2 separate regions of the Homo sapiens genome follow, and region 2 is linked to region 1. The links are contacts of gene promoters, found by promoter capture Hi-C in blood cells and fetal thymus (Javierre and others, 2016). All regions are on one chromosome and are shown on one strand. The core of a region is centred on a gene start or on the middle of the fragment in contact, and the rest is flanking DNA. Distances in the headings are between cores, read along the strand shown.

Evidence for each region. The method cuts DNA at HindIII sites, captures the fragments that hold promoters and counts their contacts. A CHiCAGO score of 5 or more calls a contact.
Region 2: a fragment that was not itself captured here is called in contact with the fragment with the promoter of RNF41 in region 1 in 1 of 17 cell types (naive CD8 T cells); the score reaches 5.6 in naive CD8 T cells.

Annotation. Positions count from the first base shown.
Region 1 is chr12:56,220,369-56,223,732 of GRCh38, reverse strand. It overlaps RNF41 (ring finger protein 41), which reads left to right and starts at 1,811. Exons shown (of 7, transcript NM_005785.4): 1 at 1,811-1,973. It also overlaps a transcript of NABP2 not described here. RefSeq lists enhancers at 274-568, 1-918, 1,400-1,619, 919-1,853, 1,840-1,889. The HindIII fragment of the contact is 1,612 bases long and covers 1,320-2,931 here.
Region 2 is chr12:56,009,556-56,012,919 of GRCh38, reverse strand. LOC105369781 (a long non-coding RNA gene) reads left to right here. Exons shown (of 3, transcript NR_135023.1): 2 at 1,242-1,381; 3 at 2,649-2,828. It also overlaps a transcript of IKZF4 not described here. Among named protein-coding and RNA genes, the nearest start is that of IKZF4, 9.8 kb to the left of the region's middle. The HindIII fragment of the contact is 1,691 bases long and covers 1,017-2,707 here.

The DNA.
Region 1 (3,364 bases), core at 562-3,061:
TCCCTTTTTATTGCTCTAACCGTTATCTTTGTTCCTGATTTGGGGTTCTCATCTTTAATGCACTACCCAGCTTGGTCAAGGTCTCTGGGAAAAGTGGCATTTACACCAGAGACAAAAGGCAGGCTCACCCTTCTTGGAAGAAATGGAACCTGCGACAAAGAGAGAAACATTGTTAGTCCCTTTTTTTTTTTTTTTTGAAACAGGGTCTCGCTGTGTAACCCAGGCTGGAGTGTAGTGGTGCAATCTTGGCTTACTGCAACCTCCCACCACAGCCTCCGTAGTAGCTGGTACTACAGGTTCGCACTACCACCCTCGGCTAATTTCTGTATTTTTTTTGTAGAGACAGTTTCGCCATGTTTCCCAGGCTGGTCTCGGACTCATGACCTCAAGGGATCCGCCCACCTCGTCCTCCCAAAGTGCTAGGATTACAGGCGTGAGCCGCTGCACCTGGCCATACTACTCTTCCCCGCCCCGCCCCACCGCTCCACCCCGGCAAAGGAGTCTTGCTCTGTCGCCCAGGTTGGAGTGCAGTGGCGCGATCTCGGCTCACTGCAATGCAACCTCTGCCTCCCGGGTTCAAGCGATTCTCCTGTCTCAGCCTCCCGAGTAGCTGGGATTACAGGCGCCCGCCACCACGCCCGGCTACTTTTTTTGTATTTTTAGTAGAGACGGGGTTTCACCACGTTGGCCAGCCTGGGCTCAAACTCCTGACCTCGTGATCCACCAGCCTCGGTCTCCCAAAGTGTTGGGATTAAAGGCATGAACCACCGCGCCCGGCCATACTACTCTTATCTTACTTATCTCAGAGTCCCGCTAGAAGACAGCAGAAAGGAGGCCTGAAACTTTAGTTCCTTTTGGGACCTGTCAAATTGTCCACAAAAGGTAGCTAGCTCTGTATTGTTGTGTATAAACAAATTACATAAAGATATGTGTGTATGTGTGTATTAATGTGCATTAGCATTTGCTTAGCCAATGTCCACAATAAATACCATACTATTTAATACCAGATTAGTCTAGGAAGTCATGTGATTGTAATGCCTTGGTTTGCTTAATTAATCCCTTATCTGCTCACGGAGCTCTTTAGGCTCCACATTGACTTCCCTTGGATCCCACGTTCTCTACCGCCCACATCCCCAACACCACGGTGTTGTAAGCTAAGGAAATCAAACCCCAACTCAGGAAGAGGGAAATTTTTTCTCCCTTCCTTCCTCTTAGGTGTTTCAGGGAACTCCACAAGTGTTCGGGGAGCCATCGTGGATACGGCAGGAGAGCGCCTGGGAGAGAGGCAGACAACCCGTTGAGCACCCCAGATCTAAGCTTTGCGGTCAGACTCCCTCACTCCCCACCCCGCGGCCGCCTTGTTAACTGCAATATCCATTCCCATGACAGGAGTCAAGGGGTTACGAAGCTCTGGGATGCTGACCAGGGCTCTGGAAAAGGGAGAGGGGCCGGACCCGCAGCAGGTCACGCTGCAGGCCTGCCTCTCCGCAATGATCTCGCAACAATCTGCGTCAGCTCTAAGACACAAGTCACCTGCACCCCTCCAAAGCGAAGCGTGGCCGGCCAGGCCCACACGTTTTTGCCGGGAAGAACATAGAGTTCTCCCTCCTAAATGGCTACATAGTCCTGGCTGGGACCATATAGACTCTAGACTAGACTTCCTGTCTAGAGTGGAGGCCTGGCCAGCCTTCGTCCCTCCTCGTAGGCAGCTCCTGGCTGCTGGTGTAGGGGCTGAGTTAAACAAAGAGGCGGGGTTTGGTGACGAGCTTCCGCCGGGTTGCGTAGCAGCGGTGGGCGGGGCAAAGGATCCGTCTGAGGCGGCGACGAGTGGTAGGAGTCTTCTTTCCCCTCCTTCCCCTTTCCCTTCCCTTCCCGGGAGAGGCTGGGACCCGGCACCAGGGCAGTACTGTGGCCGCTGCGGCCTCAGCTCCGACTGGGTCAGGTTGCGGAGACTCCAGGCCGCTTCCAGGGCGGTGCGTACTGCGCCTGCGCGATCTTCCACCTAAAAGAGGGTGTGGGAGGGGAGGAGGTGATGTCCCAGGGGTATTGGGGCGGGGGGTTGAAATAACTGGGGTTCAGGAGGAGGGATGGTGGTAGAGATAAAAATGTGAGAAGGGAGCAGCACTGGCGAGGAGTCGGGAGGTGAGAAGGGGGCTCTGGAGAACGGGTTGTTGGGGAAGGTCCATTGGAATAGGGGAGCTTTGAGAAGTGCGGGAGGGGGCCGGGGCTAGCTGGAGGACCGGCACCTGCAGAACTGGGGGAACAGCGTGGTGTTTAAATGGGCAATGATTGACGGGCCAGAAGGGGAGGAAGGGAGCATTCCGGGGGCCAGCCTGGGCAGGGGCGGTGGAACCTAAACCCCCGCCCTCGAAGCGCCATAGCTTGGCTCCTCTCCCATGCCTTGTCGTTGGCAGCCTTGTCCTCTCATTCCTTCCCCGCTCCTCACCCCCTCCCAGCCCTCCATGAAGGAATCTCACATTCTTCACATCCCTGCGCTTGGTTTGCAGCCTGGCTCTCTGGCAGGGTTCACACACCACACACTGGAAGGCCTTCCCTAACTCAGGACTTTGGGAAATTGGGTAGTGGGGAGGAGGGGGCTAGAGGAAGAGCAGAAAGCCAGGAGGGGTGAAGGCGTTTTGCTTGAGGGATTGACAGACTGCTTCCCCGTTCAGAAACTTCATTTCATTTAATAGCAAGTGGGGCTGTTATTGAGGCCACTGTTCTTGGGGACTGGCCCGTGATAGTGTTATCCCTTTCTATACAGGGGTTTTAGAGTCTGACAATAGGGCAAGAGACTGATAGTGTTGTTGGCTGATAGTTTTGCCCCAAATAAGAATGTAGTGGACTAGTGGTAGGGAATGTGAGTGATGCAATGTTAAGCCGACCGACCTGTGGCTAGCCCTGCCTTCTAGTAAAAAGAAGGAACAAGCTTTTGTCAAGCATTTCCTCTCCGACTCTCAGTACTCTAAATTTATTTTGCATTCTTGTTTTTTTTTTTTTTTGAAACGGAGTCTCACTCTGTCACCCACGCTGGAGTGCAGTGGCACAATCTCGGCTCAGTGCCACCTCTTTCTGGGTTCAAGCGATTCTCCTGCCTCAGCCTCTTGAATAGCTGGGATTACAGGTACCTGCCACCATGCCTGGCTAATTTTTTGTATTTTTAGTTGAGATGGGGTTTCACCATGTTGGCCAGGCTGGTCTCAAACCTCTGACTGTAGCCGGGCGCGGTGGCTCACGCCTGTAATCCTAGCACTTTGGGAGGACGAGGCGGGCGGATTGCCTGAGCTCAAAAGTTCGAGACCAGCCTGGGCAACACAGTGAAACCCCGTCTCTACTAAAAATATAAAAAATTAGCCGGGGCATG
Region 2 (3,364 bases), core at 613-3,112, 210 kb after region 1:
CTCAAACTCTTGGCCTCAAGCAATCCTCCTTCCTCAGCCTAATGAGTAGTTGGGACTACAGGTGCATGTGCCACTGTGCCTAGCTCTTCCCCATTTGTTTGAATCCACTTGGCATAAACAAGAGTCCTCCATGGCCCTGGCTTTCTCCTATCAACATTACAACACATTTGAACAGGAATGGGCATCCTTTCTAGACAGAAGATTTCCCACCAGGCTCCCTGACAGGCAGCAGTGAGGGCCAATCCCAGCAGTTTGGGAGGCCAAGGCAAGAGGACTGCTTGAGGCCAGGAGTTCTAGGCCAGCCTGGGCAACACACTGAGACACTAAAAAAAAAAAAAAGTAATTTAGGCCAGGTGTGGTGGCTCACGCCTGTAATCCCAGCACTTTGGGAGGCCAAGGTGGGTGGATCACCTGAGGTCAGGAGTTCGAGACCAGCCTGACCAAATGGAGAAACCCCATCTCTACGAAGAATACAAAATTAGCCAGGGGTGGTGGTTCATGCCTGTAATCCCAGCTACTCAGGAGGCTGAGGCAGGAGAATCGCTTGAACCCAGGAGGCGGAGGTTGCAGTGAGCCGAGATCGGGCCATTGCACTCCAGACTGGGCAACAAGAACAAAACTCCGTCTCAAAAAAAAAAAAAAAAAAAGTCATTTAACACATGCTTAATGTGGCCTAGGGGGTAAAAGGTCATGAGAAGAATATTGTTGGGAAAGATGGTGAAGGTAGAGAGAATGGCAAGGATCCATACCATGTTTTTGTTATTATTCCCAAACTATAACAGGCAGAAGTAGAAAAATTTTCTCCACTTTCCCTTAGTACCTGGGTTCTGCGGTGGAGAGCAGTAGTTATTAACAAGACAGAACTTCCCATGTGCCTTGGGTATGAGCCATTCAGGTGCTACAAGTAGAGCAAACCCACAGCATCATCCTCTACTGTCTATGCCTTCCTGAACTGAGTGAAATCTGAGCAAAAATATGTTGAAATCACATAGCTGGCTCTGCTCTCTATCAAAGCTTTGCATAATTGAGGAGGGAGAAGACGCAAAGGGGCCAGGGAAAGGTATGGAATTAGCCACTGTCTGCAAGCCCCTTTCCAGGAAAAAGACCTAGACATCAAGCAATTTGCAGCTCTGAAATTATCTTTAGGGTCAACCTAGTGCTCTCTGAAGGAAACCCACCAACCTTAGCTCAGCTCATGTGTTTGTCTTTACAGTGGAAAGGTCTGACTCATTTTTCACCAGGCTGTAGATGGTGACCTTCTGTCTACATATAATACAGTTGAAGACAGCTCAGCTTCATTATCCAAGTGCTTGGGGAGCAGTGCAGAGGGGATAAATTCCCAGGTCATCCTAGGAATGGCCAGTCTCTAAAATAAAAAGGGGTAAGAGCTGAAAACACAACACCTGGGCAGGGGGAAAATATCACCTCATTGTCTCCTTTTAGATCTCAGATGGATGCATCTTTTCTCTTGTTCTTTGCGCTTCTCTGTCCTCCCCATGTAGACTGCAGAAGAGAGAGAAGGCTAAGGTTTATGAGTGGGAGAAGAAACGATCCTATCCCTCCCATGTCTCATTTCAGGACATAAGGAACTAAGGAAAAGGGCCAAACTAAACACTTTAAATCACTAGATATGATACATAGGAGATGATACTTTTTGGGGTTTTTGGGTGTACCCCCAAGTATAGCTCTCTGTTTATAGAAAGGCCTCACAAAATCACTGCTGTTCAGTGGTATGTTTGGCAGGGGTGGAGAAAGTAGAGCAGGGAAATTCAATTTGAGTTTTATAATAATCAGTTTTAAAGCCAAAGATGCCCAAAACAGGGTTAGCACTCTCAAGTGAAGTTTGAAATTACAGGGAAGTCTCAGTGAACTATTCTGACTAGGGTACAGTAGCAAAAAAAATGTAGAAGAGACAGGAACAATTGCCTTTGATTGCAATTGTGCCCAAAAGTCCCTAATACATGCTGATCAAAAAAGTTCACTGTTGTTTGGGCCAGAAAGATGTTTTCAGGCTTCTCTGCTAATAGTCTTGCTCTGATAATCCAATTTGGTAAGACTCTCTTCTTCATGTGGAGGGTCTAGGGCAGGGGTACTCCAGGAACTGAGAAATCCTGGAGCTGAAATGGAGTTGAGAGATTATCTACAATTTCCTAGTTTTTAACAGAAGAAACTAAGCCCAGAGTCATCAATCTCATTAACAACAGAATTAGGACATGTAGAGTCCAAGTTACCATTAGAAGATTCTTTCCACTGGAACACTATATTAAATCTTGCCCCAGTTGGAAGATTTGGGCCACCCTGCTTGCCTTCTTTCTTGGGTTATTAAATGAATGGTTTTTGGGTCTGCGTCTTGCTGACCTAAATCCTTGAACTGGAAACACAGGCTTATGGATGGGAGGATAAATAATCCTCTTCCTCCTATGTCTCTTTTCAGAGATAATGGACCTGAGGAAAACACCAAACTAGATGGTCATTAAGTCTCTAAAGTAGAAACGGCCTCTTAGCTTGAGGACTACCCCAGCATAGGTATTGCATCAGAGCCTACAATGTGGATCCTCCCCGCAGCTGGACCAGGTCATTCATATCAGCACTACCCTTTCTTAGATGCCTTTGTCTGATAAACTTTGAACCTATCTCTCTGTTTCCAGAACAGAGTCCATAACTCTTCTAAGAAGAGGAAGCAAATCAAAGCCTGGAATTCAAAGCTTTCTTCAGCAGAGTCAACAGACCAATAAAGAAAGGGAGTCCCTCTGCCTGTGGCATTGTCCACACTCACAGGGTCCCACACTCTTATTTGTTCCTACAGAGTAAAACGAGGCTAGAAATACCTATCTTTCTTTTTCTTTGGTGTGTGTGTGTGTGGCGAGAGAGAGAGAGAGACAGAGAGAGAGATGGCCAGTTGGGGAAAAAAAATAATTCCTTTGTGGATACTACTGTGTGTGGGGGGGCAGGGGGTACGGTGAAAGGTGGGATAAGTTTCTCCCATGCTGGGAAGTTCAAGCTGCAGATTTCAAACTAAGAGGACATAAAGAGACTTTCAGTTGCATTTTCACTGGAAAAAAGTCAGGACTTATTTCTGAGCCAAGTCCTGAAATATGCCTTACCCTTAACCTACTCAGAGGAAGGGGATTGCCCAGAAGCTACAATTCAACTAACTAACTGCACTCAGTGGGCAACAAAGACATTATATTTTGTGTTTGAGACATCAACTTCTATTGACTAGGGCAAGGTATAATTCTGAAGCTGCCAAAATGAGGGCAGCTCTCACCATTCTGAAGCCCACCCCAGAAGCTCCAGTGAAACTTCTCTTGCTTCCCAATGGTAAAGCTATTTTCTTCTTTTAAGATTTTATTTTTATCTCAGG